Regions from separate parts of the Homo sapiens genome. Here region 1 is linked to region 2. The links are contacts of gene promoters, found by promoter capture Hi-C in blood cells and fetal thymus (Javierre and others, 2016). All regions are on one chromosome and are shown on one strand. Each heading gives the region's core, a stretch centred on a gene start or on the middle of the fragment in contact. The rest is flanking DNA. Distances are from core to core; before and after follow the strand shown.

The links. The method cuts DNA at HindIII sites, captures the fragments that hold promoters and counts their contacts. A CHiCAGO score of 5 or more calls a contact.
Region 1: a fragment that was not itself captured here is called in contact with the fragment with the promoter of FAM53B in region 2 in 1 of 17 cell types (total B cells); the score reaches 5.8 in total B cells.

What each region holds. Positions count from the first base shown.
Region 1 is chr10:123,142,060-123,149,593 of GRCh38, reverse strand. HMX2 (H6 family homeobox 2) reads right to left here and starts at 1,458. Exons shown (of 2, transcript NM_005519.2): 1 at 948-1,458; 2 at 1-24. The coding sequence starts at 1,215. RefSeq lists silencers at 749-878, 1,269-1,588 and enhancers at 5,867-6,803, 6,804-7,534. The HindIII fragment of the contact is 2,307 bases long and covers 2,748-5,054 here.
Region 2 is chr10:124,741,848-124,749,047 of GRCh38, reverse strand. FAM53B (family with sequence similarity 53 member B) reads left to right here and starts at 4,670. Exons shown (of 5, transcript NM_014661.4): 1 at 4,670-5,035. RefSeq lists silencers at 4,432-4,571, 4,702-4,751, 4,772-4,881, 4,932-5,091, 5,412-5,621 and 1 more. The HindIII fragment of the contact is 7,750 bases long and covers 418-7,200 here.

The sequences.
Region 1 (7,534 bases), core at 2,652-5,151, 1.6 Mb after region 2:
AGCCTCCGCTGCCCTTGGGGGTACCTGAGGAGCGAGAACAGACAGAAAGGCCATGGAGTTGGTTGGGGAGCCTCGGAGACCGCCAGCTCTCCCTGGGACCAAGCGGTTGGCAAGCGCCTGCAGCCTTGGTCCCACCTTACCAATCCCCTCCTCTTATCCCTCTCACTGGCCCCCCAAACCCAGCACCCCGTCCTTTAAAAGCGACAAGAGAGGGACCCAGCTACTTGGAGTATGGGGTCTCTGTGCTCCCACCTTTATGAATGGGCCAGGGGCAACAGGGAGAGGAGGTCTGGAGGGGGAAACATTAGCATGGTTTTAAAAGGCGAATTTGCTTGGTGGTAATTGAGCTGGAAGAGTTCCTCGAGCTTTATAGGGTGGCATCATTTCACAGGCCGTTTGTTTGGAAATCACGCTAAGGACTAACGCAGGACTCCCCTTCGTCAAATGTTGTAAAGAGGAACCGTCTCTGAAATGCACCATTGTCAATCATCTTGGAGTGCTAATCATTCCAAGGAGGAGAGAGAGAGAAAGGCAGAGATACGGAGCGAGTGAGGAAGAAGACTCAGAAAGAGATTACGGTGGAGACAGACTGCCCAGACCCGACTTGCAGATCTCCACCTCGTGTCCGGAAAGAAAGTACCAGATGTGCAGTGATTGAGGACAGCCGGGTGTAAGGCCGGCCGCGTGTCCCTCTCGCTGTGGTCCACTCTCTCAACAACTCAACCTTCCCCAGGAAGCCCAAGCCGGCACGGGTCTGTGTTCGCCTGCTCCCAGGGGCCCACCGGGCGGAGGAGGCACCACAGTGCGCGCCCCTCTCCCCGCGGTCCCGAACCCCCGGCTGCCGCAGCTCTGGCCAGAGGGGGCCCGGCGCGGGAGTCTTGGCGGGGCGCTCAGCCTCCCTCCCCTCGCGCTCGCTCGCTGCCACACTGGCGACGTGCGATCCTTACCCAGGCAAGGAAAAGGGATGGGGGGATGGTGCTTGGGGCCCTGCTCCTTAGGGCCGTGCTGGTCTGGGCAGAAGCAGGCGGGCGCCTTCCAGCCGTCGTCCGGCTCCTCCTCCTCCGAGGACACGGACAGGCTGCGCTTCCTGGCTGGCCAGCCGACGGGCTCCCGCGGTGCCTCCGAGGGGCCCCCGCCCAGGATGGACTGGATGGTGAAGCTGGAGACGCCACCGGCCGCCGGACACCCCTTGCCCGCATCTTCTTTGCTGCCCATCCTGGGTTCATAAGAAATCGAAGGAAACCAAGAACTCCCTTTAGAGACGATCTGGGTGATCTGGGTGGAAGGTGGTGCAGCAGGCAGGCAGTGGGGAGGGGCGGGGAGGAAATCTAGGGGGAGGGGGCGCCGAGGCTGGTGAGGCGTCCCTTCCGCGCCAGGGACATGCAGGCACCGGATGGCTGCGCAGGGGTTCCTGCCCGCCTGGCTCTGGGTGCGCCCGCCCAGCCCCGGTGCAAATGCCCCTTCCTCGCCCGCCAACTCGCCGGGTCTCCGGCGGCGCGGAGGCGGCGCGGCCTCATTTGCATAGAGGTTACCCGAACGCGGCCAATCGCAGCGCCGCCGAGCGGCCCCGGAAAATTTCAAAACGCTCCGGCCAGGCACACAGCACCGGTGCGCCCCCAGAGCGCGCCGAGGGCCTGGCGGGCATCAGCGGCGTCTAACCAGGGGCAGCCAGGGCTGAAAGCAGCTGCAGATTCTAGCCCGGGTTCCTGGCGGCTGCGGCAACTCCGACTCCTTGGACCCCTTGGACCCTTCTCTCCAGAGGCAGGGGCGGTGCGGGACTCGGAGCTGGAGTGGCTCGACGCCTCCGCAGGCGACGGGTCTCCGCGCCTCCCAGGGGCTTGTACAGGCTGCTCCACCATCCTCCCCCAGCCCTCCACCCCTTCTAGCCCCAGTGGGCGGGCAAAGCCGGCACTCCTGGGACCGTGGCGCCCTGCGTGGGGGTGAGGTGGGTTAGGAGCAGGCGTCTCCAGGCGGACGCTCATCCTCTCCAGCATGGCCAGGAGCCTTGGGAGCAGACATTCCCCTTCCCCGTCTGCAGACCTCATCCCTGTCACAGGTTCTACGGACCTACAGAATCTTTAGGGGGAGGGAGGAAGCCCTAAGACCTCTAGTCAAGAGATCTGGGTTCAAATTCCGGCACAACTATTTACACACTGCATGAACTTGCACAACTCATGCCGATTAAAGCCTCTCTGCCCTCATAGTTGAAAATAACTTCTCGGATTGCCTCAGGTAGGGATTAAAAGCCTCGAAGCACTAGCAGCGCATAGTAGGTACTCCATAAACCTGGCCGGGTAGCCCATGGCCCACCCGTGTTTTAAGCGAATCTGTGTTTTTGTTTTGTAAATTTTGAAGGTTTCCGAACTGCTGCAGAAATAGACGCCTTACTCCCAGGAAGAAGATAAGGAACTGGTGACAGGACTCGGTTTTAGAATTGAGCAGACTCGACTCAATTCTCGGCTGGGTGATCTTGGGGGAAGACATTTGGAAATTCTGAGGCTCGGTTTCTTTATTCCTAAAATTGGAGGAAGCAGTGCCTCCCTCGCAGAGGCTGTTGTGAGGTCAAACTACCCAGCACCGAGCCTGGCACACCGTGGTGCTCAGTAAATAGTGATTCCCTCTGTGTTCTCATAGCCCCCTTCTGTGCCCTGGCTCTCGCCCCTTTAATTCCTAGATCAGCTGTTACCCGAGCTAGAATTAGCCCAGCCAAGCAAAGCGGTTTGGGGCCACAGTCGTCTGCACAAGCTTCCTGGAAACTGAAGTGAGGCAAGGCCCGAAGTGCTCAGGCAACCCCGTCCCCTCAAGCTGTGACCTCTAGACCTCTTGGCCAAGAGATTCCAGAAGCCCTGTCTTTAGGGTGCCCCCCAAGTGCAGCCAAGGGTGAGTGGAGACTCTGGAATCAGTCCCCACAAATGTCCAGACACTGCATGACTGTGCAGTTCCTTCCTCGCCTGCACCGCGCCCGGGTTATTAAGTAAAGCGCTTATAATATCATTAGCCGCGGTGAGTTACCGACTGCGGCCCTGCCCGTGGCAGAACTCTTCCCTACTTAACTCCTCGAGGGGCTCGTTAATGGGCTAATTGATTAGGAGTCGGCCGCGCAGCCGGGGCAGGGGCAGGCGAGGGGGCGGGGGCCAGGGGGTGCGCGCAGCGGCCCGGGAGGCCAGCGAGGGGCAGGTGCCGGCCTCCGTCACCGCATTAACCTCTTCAGGGCTCAGCGGCAGGGTCGAGACACATTACAAATGGTCAGCTTTAATCATGGTGTCAGCTCATTAACCCGGAAGGACCTGGCGCTGAAATACAATTTGTGCGTTCTCCTCTGCGCCGCGGCGGCGCAGGCTCCTGGGCCACGTCGCAGCGGGTCCCGCGTGCTCCCGCGCTGTTGGGGGGTACGCGGGAGGTTCAGCGAAAGAATCGTCGGATTCTCACTAACCATCCGCTTCTCGCAGACATCCTGAGCTAGGCGCTGCCTCCGGAGCCAGGGTCAAGGCAGCCCCGAGGGGAACTGGCCAGCTAACTCGGGGAGCAGTGCCAGCCACCCCGCTGGGGAAGAAAGCTGGGGGCAGGCAGGGAAAGTTGGTCGAACCTTCCTGAACTGTAAATATGTCGTGCGGGGAACATGCTGGAAGCTCCCCAGCATTCTTCGCTTTAATCCTGATGGCAAACAAGTGACACAGATCTATTCACTCAATGTACAGGCCGGGAAACTGAGGCTCAAGAAAACAAGAGACTAGCCCAGGCAGACAAAGCAAGACTCGTGCTCAAGGTTGTTCCACTGCCAATACATCACATTTGGGAGGAGGGAGAGAGGAGCAGACACAGGCATTGAGCTTGGAGGATGGCTGCGGGGAAGACTGTGAGGATCCTGCTGACTCGGGATGGCGGGGGCGGGTATATGGGTGGGGCAAGAGCCCAAGGAGTGATCTCTGTCAGATCAGGGGACCTCGAAGTGGGCCTCGGAAAAGCAACTCCCAGGCCCTGAAACAGTGAGAGACTGGGGAGTCGACCCTTGCAAGAAGCCTGGCTTGCGGACTCTAAACAAGGAAGTTATGAAGCCTTGCGTCCCTATCTCTCCTTCCCCTAGGGATAGTTTGGGAAGTCAAAAAGATCCATCTTGCCTTGTATTTCCTCTGTCCCGTCCCTCTAATCGCTTCGAGGGTCTGATCTTCACCGAGGCACTTCCTCTGCTGCCACACCCGGCAAAGGACGCATTAATTCGCATGAAGGCACTTGCATAAACGCCTGCGCACACTCACACATTCATTCAGCAAACGTTCACTGAGCTCCTACTAGTGCGTGCACTTTACCAGGGAAGAGATGGTGGTGGGCACGGGGCTGGGGCAAGGAAGGCTGTGGTGGAGACCCAGCTCTGCAGCCTGACTGACTGCAGTTCCCCTGAGCTCCCCTCGATTGATAGCCCGAGGGACCTCCCGCCCCTCCAGCACCTATAGCCGTCACACCGCAAGGACGGGAGGGACAAGAAACAACCTTCCTTGCCGCCCCTTTCTAGCATATGGGGATCTTCACCGGGAGCACGGAGGCCCAGACGCCCTCTCCTGGGCCCAGTGTAGCTACAAAACTCACTCCCAGGAACACTCAGTTCCTGGAACCACCACCCACAGACACCTCATGTCTCTCCCCTAACGAGTGGCAATCCTTCAACTCAGTACTATCCCACACCCCGCCCACCTCCCTAGCCTTGGGATAGCTCCGCCCAATCCTACTCAGTTTAATACCCACACCTTGGAGGATGGCCCCTCTGCATCTTTGGGATCGACCCCCTGTCTCCCTCTCCTAGGAATTAGGCATAACCAGGTTCCAAGGAATGATAAACTTTCTGAGCCTGAAAGAACGCTTAAAGTTTAGGTCCCGAGATTATGCCACTGCTCAATATTAAAGCGGCCCAGAGCAAACTTGCCGAGGATCCTAATAAAAATTGATCCTCTCTGCTCTGCGGCAGTTGGGAAATAGGCTGGCTGAGCCGGGTAATAGAAGAAGGCTCCCTCCGAAATGACAGATGAAGTCATAAACAAGTTTGATCTTGGAATCAAGCTTCGATAAATATTAAACACAGTCTGCCCCCCCGCCCCCACGCGAGTGGATTATGATATATGGCGCGTCCAAACTTTAAAATAAGGAAATACCAGAGAAAATGATCTCAATAAATTTTCTAAGTATAAACGTTGATTATGTTTCGATTTTCGTTCAAGGGCCTCTGCTGTTCGTTCTTTGGTGCAAATGACATCTCACAATAGGCTTTTGGGGAAAAGGGCTCCCTATTTGAAAAAGAGAGCCCCAGAGGTGTACAATTTATGTAATCTGCTGCTGGAAAATGAATTGTGTAATTTATTGGAAAACAGAAAGTCATGAAGATTGGATCAGCATAGCCGAGTCCCGACACTCTCCACCCCCCTCCCCACCCCCCCACATCCATCAAGTTCCAATTAACAGCCTAACCAGAGAGCTTTAATGGGTTTCCAATCTAGTGGCCTGATAGACTCATCAATTCCTCTGGGAGAAATTAAGAAAATCGACCGCCCCTTGGCGACGCAGTGTCATTCCTTTCTGCAACTATATGTCAAATTAAAAACACAATTAAAATTTAAACTGTTTCAATCAAAGGGTGCCCTGCAACCTATGTTTCACTTAATAGAACTTTGATGAAAATCTGATGCGTGCACTCCATCACCAACGGGGGCGAGGGCGGTGAAGGAGCTCACGAAAGAAGGGGATTCTTTATATTTCTTTAAGACATTAGCGCTTGGGTGAGGCACAGCAGGTGACTCCACCTCACCGCTCCTGCCTCAGTGATAGGCGCAACGCGCTCTCTCGCTGGCTCTATACCTCTCCCAGGCCTAAACCCAAAGGGATCCTTTTGGAACCCCGGCAACTCAGACTTTGGGAAGTTTCCCCCGGAGATGCATCGCCAGGAGCAGCAGCCAAGGAAGAGATCTGCGCTAGTACAACTCATGCGCACCTCCAGGGGACTCTCGGAGAAGGCGCGCTGCAGTCTCCAGCTATCCCTTCCCTCGGGTCTCCAGAACCGCCCCGTCGCTGGAGTGATACCCTTAGGGGTCCTGGAAATGGAAGGGTGGGGAGGAATCCCAGGCGCATACATGGGCCCCAGTGAGGACGAGGGTTGTGTTTCTATCCAGGACCCGATTACCCACCTCAGCCTATGCTCCCCACCTCGTGCACCTTCAGGGTACTCCGCCGGAGAGACACACCGGGGACAAGTGCAGCCCAAATCTCAACCCCAGACTCCGATCGGAGACACCCGGCAGGGCTCAAAAGTACATCCCGCCTAGTTGTTCTCGTGGCTCTTTCCTCTCTTCCGCCATCCTTCCTCCGCTCCCCAGCCCCCAACTGTTTTCAGGTCAAAAGGTCAACACCATCCACCCTGCACAACGGCCGTGCACACTTCCAGAGTCCTAGGCCCAGAGGCAAGGGATCGCTCACACCTCAAAGCCCGGGTTAGGGGGTGGGGGACAGCGAGAGGGCGGGGAGCCGAGCGTGGGAGCCCTGCGGCTGGGTCCTGCGGGGCCACGTGTACATGCGGGGGCGGATGTTGTCCTCTGGGAGTGCCCGGCTGGGCTTTGGACCCCAAGCAGAGGTTTCTATGAGGCTCCTGGTTCTTACACCCTGACCCCATCGCGCGCACCCGGGTAGACAGGTCTTCTTAGCCTCTTTGCGGAGTCTACATTTGGACCGCTAGCGGAAGACGCCCCCTGGCTGGGTCACTGAGCCGCGGGAAGTGGACGACCCGAGTAAATGGGGCAAAATGGAATCGTGGAGGGCAGCGTAGCGCCCAGCAGAAGCTCAGGCCCCACGGGGACTCTTAAGGGGAGTCCAGGTGCCCCGCGGGCGCAAGGGGGTGAAAGCAGCAGCGCGTGGCCCTTGCGCAGGCGGCCGGACAACGCGATGCCTCTTCAAACCGCTTGCAGGAAGCAGCCGGCAGCACCGCCCTCCCGCCCCCAAGCCTCCGACCCTGGTCCCCATCTCCCAGGCCCTAGCTGGCCCAGAAGGCCGCAGAAGGGAAAGCAGATCCCACTAACCTTTTCGCCGGCTCCTCTTTCTCCCAACTCTACCTCCGGCCTCTCACACAAGAAGAGCGCACGCACTGGGGTTCTCACCGCGTGGCCTCTGGCTCTGCGGTGCCGGGAGCCTGTTGAGGGGGCGTCGCGGCTCAGAATGAGCGCCCGGTGGTGGGGGGGCAGTTTATATCTGTCTTTCTGTTGTTTGATGTACACACACCCACTCTATTTACTACCAAATAAAAGAAATACATCTGTGTTGCCAACAGAAACAGTTCGCGTGCTGGCTCTGTGGTCTCCCAGGGTCCAGAGGCCTCGGGGGTGCTCAGAGCGGCAGAGCCTGGCACTGTAAGGAGGCGGACACTGAGTAGGATCCCAGCCTACAAGAGCAAGGGGGTCTGCGGTGGGATGGTGGCAGGCTCCGCTAGTGTATCCCAGGTGGCTTGTGAGGAGGGACTTCGAGGCATCCCGGTCCAAAGGATGTTCACTAAGGCTTCCTG
Region 2 (7,200 bases), core at 3,421-5,920:
GCAGATAGTTGACAAGAGAAAAATTAAGTTTTGAGCTTATATCTCAAATACTGAATGTGAATTCCACTAAAGAATATTTAAGAAAAAAAGTTGAAATGGTTTCATTTAAAGATGGTAACATAAACATTTAGCCTGGTCTACAGTTGAAATATTTTCTAGATTAAATGCAATTTATAATATAGCAATATGAAAATACTGTAATTTGTTTTTAGATATGTTTTTGGTGGGGTAACTGAAGCAAACTAGGGAACTCACCATGTTATAATGATAATAATTAGCATCTACTTCATGTAAGATCATAAACAGATGCTTTTGAACCTTAGTATTAGGATAATAAAATAGGCTTAATAAGTTTTACTTATGCCATTTACTTTGATTGTAGATAGTGAAAAGCCTTTCTTACACTTTTTTAAAGCTTTTTATTTACCATACATAAACTTTTAAATGTTTGTTATTCATGCTTGTGTTTTCTTGTAGCACATAATACCAGTAGTTACTATTAACTTTGAAAAAAAAATATGAAGTTGAAATAAGTTTTAACTGTTGCTCTGTTCTTTTTAGCTTACTTTACCAGAACTCTTCCCTCCAGTGAGTTGCAAGCGTGACATTTGCTGTGTTTTCAGCACCTGCCAACTTGGAAAGCAGGGTTTGTGTTCAGGACTTAGGCTCACAACCCATACTTTGTGGTGCACAATGCTGGCCCAGCTGGCATGCTTTCGTACCTCAATGGTGCTAGACAGTCAGTTACAAAGCTGTGTGGCTTCACATGCGCTGATCTCAATAGTCACTCCTCTTCAAGCTGCTTTCAACTCTTATTTTGTATCAAAGGAGTGGGATTGGTATTATTAAACTCATTGCTGAGGTTATTTTTCAGTGAAAATAAATTGTTTTATTTAGTTCTTGGATCAAAGAGTAATTTTGTCCTCAGCAACCAAATACCTCTTTAAAAAGGTGTGTGTGTATATATATGTATCATTCATGTATGTATGTATGTATGTATATACACACATGCATGATTCCAGCCAGAGCTATAATTCATTTCTTATTTTCATCAGTGGATAAAAAGAACAGACAGGAAAGAACAGAGGGATTAATGTGTCATGTGATCCCTACATGCTAATGTAGGTAGGGTTACTAGTTGTAGCTGGACAAAGATGTGGGAAAATTTACAGAACTTTTTTTTCTGAGTAAGACGTGAAAATTGCCCCCATGATAGGTTCAGATTTTTTATTTCCATCTGTAACCAGAAACTTCTTATATTTTCCAAAGAAGTATATTTTGCTAACATATTTCCAGTCACCTATCTTTTTGAAAATACTTAAGGTGGACTTGGTGATGTCTGTCTTCTCATAATTTATTATAAGCAATTTTAAAAAGGTTCTGCTTTTAAAAAGATCTTTTCAAATGTAGAAAGAACAGTGTGAAATGTGAATGACTGGCTTTTAATACAAGGGTTGTGACAAAGAGGCAGTGGCTTTTGGAAGCCAAATAAAGGGGTGAATACACGTGCATCTGCATACTGCTGTTGGATCCAGTGTATAACGTTTGGCGTTTGTTTAGTTCACTTGTTAGTCTAAAAAGGATAGTATGTTATTCTCTCAAACCAGTTTATAATTTTTTAGTGGTAAGCTCTTTTTACAACCATACCTACAGATAGATTTGATGGGAAAAACTGAACATTTGCTGGTACTTGTTCAAGCCTCAAAGCTCAGCTCTTTGTTTGAACGTCACATTTATCTGGTTCTAAAGGCATAAAAATAAAACACCCACTAACTACCTAAGACACTCCTTAGTGCATATCAAAACCCAACCTTTACCCTCGTCTGCACAAATGTGCTTAGGTGAATACTTTTATTAGCTTGTTGATACAAGTTATAGTAGGTTACACCCTTAATAAAACACACCCTTATTGTCATCCTGTTGCTTAAGAGCTTTAAACTTGTAATAGGGGAGCTCTCTAATATAGAATGATACTCAATTTCTATCTCCCAGGCAGTTTTGAGTGGAAATGTGTTGCACACCTTACACACAAGTGTGCCTCTATTTGGTAGTCCTCCTTTGGGAGAACTAGGATTGCTGTGTTTTATCCCTGGCTTTCATATATTTTTTGTTTGTTTGTTTGTTTGTTTTTTGAGATGGAGTCTTTTTCTGTCACCCAGGCTGGAGTGCAGTGGTGCGATCTTGGCTCACTGCAACCTCTGCCTCTCAGGTTCAAGCGATTCTCCTGCCTCATACTCCTGAGTAGCTGGGATTACAGGTGTCTGCCACCATGCCTGGCTAATTTTTGTATTTTTAATAGAGATGAGGTTTCACCATGTTGGCCAGGCTAGTCTCAAACTCCTGACCTCAAGTGATCCGCCCGCCTTGACCTCCTAAAGTGCTGGGATTACAGGCGTGAGCCACTGTGCCGGGCCGTCATATATTGGTCTTGATGTAAAAGACTGCAAGTAATCCCTGCATTTTATATTTCCCAGGGTGTTCTCCGGCTTAATCAGGTTAGCGTTGGTTGGTGATAATGGAAAAGTTACAAGTAATAGTTTTTAGATTATTTATGGATTTATTCCTAAATTGGCCTATGAATTTGCATTTAGGTGTCTGGTTGTGTGCAAAATCTGGTTTTGACCATTTTGGATTGAACAAAGATAGACAGTTTAGCTCCATGTCCCCACCCCATTGCAGCTTTTACATAGCTTTAAATCTAGAGTTCTACATTTTTAGCTACTCTTCTGAATTGAGCAGAACTCTAATATAACAACAACCTTTTGGGTAGAATTTTTTCTTAGTAAAGAACTATGGAGCTGAGCACTAAGAAGTGAGGATGTTTTATAATATAGCTGTAGGATTATTATATCATGTGGGAAGAACCTATAGTATGGAAGGTTAAGTGTGACACAGGTCTTAATGTATGCATATCTTTTTAGCCTTTGGAGATACAAATCTAGAAAATGAGAAGTAACTATTTATTGGTTAATAGCATAACTTCTTAAGCAAGTATATTCTAGACAGCCTCAAGAAAGCCTCAGAACCAGAAAAACAGGCTGCTTTAGGTTGGAAAGGAGGTGTTACAGCAGAGGAACTGGCCATGACCACCATCCTTGGAATGTGAAACGCAAATCATCCTGAAAGCAACAAGAATAATGGTTGTAATAATTGTTTCCAGGCCTGGGACCCTGCATCTTGTTTTTTAAGTTGACCTGATGAACTAGTAATTGTAGGAATAAACTGAATGTTTGCCAGCAGGAGTCACTCTAGGCTTCCTAATAAAACGTTAGTAAATTAAACTCTGTCCTTAAAGCTCTGAAAGGCTGAGGTGATTGTGTGATATCAGATGGCTTTAGGGAAACACTGACTCTTTTCGTTAAGCATAGCAGCATTCTTAGATTATTCCTTGGGCCTTCTTTTGTTCACCATCGGTTCTTGGATCTTGTTCCTTTCAAGATTGGTCCTTAATGCATTTTTAAAAAGCAACGTATATGGGTAAGGATATCAATATCTTAGTATGCTGTATTCTGTATGTTAGCTCATTTTGGCTTTCTAGGATGAACTGACTCTATCCCACATCATGTAACTTGAAATGAATAGACTCATATCCTTTCCACTGATTGCTGTCCATTCTAATCATGCAGCAGAACTCAGTGGAGCGAGCTGTAGTGTGAAAGGAGATGTCAGTTCATGCTTTTCTGAAAAGAATGGGTCCGGTGTGATGATATTCTGAAATATTTCAGCAATAGCCATGAAATATAATAGTTTCCCAAGCACACAAAGCTCAAGAAGTTAATTGTTCATTTATGTTTGATACTGGGATTGAAACATTGGATTAAAACCAATTAAATGTTCCTAGAAGCAACAGAAAAAGTTTCCTTATTTATGAATAGAACCATTCAAATGGCGCAGACACAATCCATGTAAAGTAATGAGGTGTTTTGTTTTTTTGGCAAAGGAGAACACAAAACAGGCATAGGGAGTTTTAAAAAAACTTCTCTTTAAAAATCGCTTTTTGGATACAAGGTCAATAAAATAACATACACCAGTAGGAAGGAGTAATGGGAAATCTAGGGCTTCACAAGGAAAACAATCCCCCTCCCCCAGGTGAGCAGCACAATGAAAATACTCTGCTTATTCTATCAGGGTTACATTCCTGAACTTAAGTCAACATCCTAAGTTACAGAACTAAACATGCTCTGCCTCTGCTTAGCAACCACAAATCCTTCCTTCGCCAGTTGCATGTATTTTGGATGTGGCTTCTGAAGTACACAGTCACAGCGCCCCGAGTTAGGAAATTTGCGCTTTATTTTCCCAAAGTGTGACAACACTTTAAGGTCCCCCCTCCCCGACCCCACCCGCCCGCTGTCCTGCACGCCACTGAAGTGATCGTTTCTTTTGAACCTCGGCATCTAACAACCCGGAAGCTGGACGCCTGAAGCCTATGCGGCCCAGCGTTTTCATCCCGGCTCGTGCTGGGGGCGGGGAGAGAAGCCCGTAGGGCCTCTGGCGCGGGGCCCGGGCAGCCGCGGTGGCGCGGCCCAGGCCCGGGGCCACTTCCCGCGTCCCGGGGCCTCGCAGGCGCGAGCGCGGCGAGCGGCGCGCGGCTGAGCCCGCAGGACGCCCTCTAGCCCCGCCGGCGGCGCGCCGCGAGTCCCTCACTCCCCGCCCATCGGCGGCTGCGCGCACTGCACACTCGCCTGCCGCCGCCGCCGCACGCCGCCTGCCTCCTGCACGCCGCCGCCGCGCCTAGCGCCCGGGCCCGCGACACCGCCCGCTAAGCGCCGGGCCGAGTTCACGCAGCCGCGGTCTGGCGGCTCCGCGGCGGCGGCGGGTGCGGGCGGCCTGGCCGGTGCCGGTTAAAGGGACGAGTTGCAAACACTTCAGGAAGTGACAAGTCGATTTCCTCCTCCCCGGGAGTCGCTCGTACAAAGCGCTCGGCGCCGGCAGGCGAGCGTGCGCGCGGCGGACGCGCGGCGGGCACCCCGGACGACTTGGCGAGCGCTGGCGGTGACGGCGCGGGGTCCGCGCCCGGAGCGCCCCGCCGCGCACAGTAAGCGACCCGGGGCCGGGCGGCGGCGGCGGTGGCCGGGGGGCTGGCCCCGAGCGAGGTCCGGGCCGTGTGCGTCCCGGCCGCTGGCTGGAGGGAGCCCGGCTCGCGTGCGCAATGGGCTTGCCTTTTTTTTTTCTTTTTTCCTAATGTTGCTGGTTTCCTTTTTTTCTGCCTTGTTTCGCCTTTGGGTTGGGTCGGGCGGTTTCTCCGGGCGCTCGGTCTCGCCCCTGATGCAGGCGTGAGACTTGTCAGAGCACAGGCATGGGGAAGAACAAGCCTGGCTGCGGCGGAAAAGTCTGCGCTCCCCAGGCCAGGGCGGGCGGGCGCGGGGACTGCTGCGCCCGGGGGTGTCCTCTCCGCGTCTCAACTTGAGCCCTGACTAGCCGCTGCGGAGGAGGCGCGGAGTCTCGGGAGCCGGGCGGCCCCATTCGCCCCGAAGTTCCCGCATCGTTTGCAGACAACTCTTTTGTTCGCGGAAGTTTGCACCCGCCACCCCCGGGGTGCGGGAGCGAGGCGGCGGGCTCCGCTGCTGCTGGACTGTCCGGGGCGGTCAGGATGGGGGTGAGGGGGCATTCTGTCCCGGGCGGGGGAAGCCCGCGGGGAGGCCACCGCTGGGGCTTGCGGAGTGGGGGCGTCCGCGCCGGCGTGGCTTTTGCACATGGCGAGAAGGGCCGTCCGGCACAGGCACACTGGTCGAGTCACATTTTTGCTAGTCTTGGATTTTGCAAGCCCGTGGGAGTCAGGTTCCCCGCTCAGGGTTTCTCTTGGGGCAGAGACGAAAGAAACGAGGACACCCAGAATCCGGGGAGGGTTTGCGGTTTGTGTTGTCCCAAGTGTGTTCTCGCTCCCCCCGCCCCCCCACCTTGTCCCCCAGCCCCCAGCTCTCCACCCCCATTTTCGGACTTGGGGAACAATGCTTGTAGTACGGGCCGGGGCGCCGCAGCAGCGACGAACCGCGCGGACAGGTTTGCCCGGGTCCCTCGCGTTCGGACGCCCCCTGAAGCCGAGCTCCTTCCATCTGACCGCCCGGGCTCATTAACACGTACTGTACTTAGGACGATGGTGAACAAAGAAAAGCTCTTTGCAGCGTTTGATGAATGGGATTCTGCCTCCTATAGGCCACACTCCGAGTCTTCCATACGGTACAATCTCCGGACTCGGTGGTGTTAGGAAAGTGGCCCCCGGAATGGCTTGCATTCCGGGTCTGGGATCCTGGGGTGGGCATTTGTGCCGTCGCCTTCGCCGCCGCGCTCGCCTTGCAGGAGCGGGTGCAGATGGAGCCAGGCTGACGGTTGTTCAACAGGAACAAATGTTTGTTCAATTGTTGGATGGTGGAGAAAAGGGACTGTTTCCTATTGACTGCTGCAGGAGTTGGAATGGCATTGTTTATTGGCCTGGGAAGCCAGGCAAGCGTCTTGTGCTGCTTACAACATATTAGCAGACTTCCAAATGACATGCTAGCATATGTGTTCCCAGCAGTCCCCACCGGCTGGCAGGGAGATTCCTCCTTGCTCCAGATCCTGGACTCGTTTAAAAGATGCCACCTGGTTTGAGGACTTGGGAAGGAATGGAGTCAGCCGACCAGGTGAAACTCACTGTTCCTTATTAGGCCAGGTTTTTGTTTCATTTTAATTTATCTATTTAAGAGTAACTTGTGTCAGTTACAGTTTTGATATTGAATTGCAGGTCTACAGGGTCCCCTCCCCCGCCTCTAGCTGTGGACTACAGAAACAGCTACTTGTCCCAGTTGATAGTCCCATTCAGTGGGAGAAGGTTTGGCTCAGGATTGGTAGCCCTTGACTCTGTGTCTGCACTTGGCTGTCACCCATCATGCGACCTGGGAGTCTGCCGATCCAGCTTCCAGGCGCTTTTTCAGGTTAAAAAGCTAAGGAGAGGCGTGGGGAAGGCCTGTATTTTTTTCTTCCAAACGTTCCTTCAGAGAACGAGGCGATTTAAATTCAAATAATGTTGCCCAACGACTTCCTATTTTCTTCTGAGAAGGTGAGATTCATGTGCAGTCATTTTGATATCAAAGACAAGTTTTTAAATAGAAACTAGCAACCTCACTGCTGCAGAAGTGGACTTGAATGTTCCAGTCTTCTCAGGACAAAGTAGAGAGCATTCCACTGTCTTGGTTCATAATGTTTTAAATCAGTTTCCCTCTT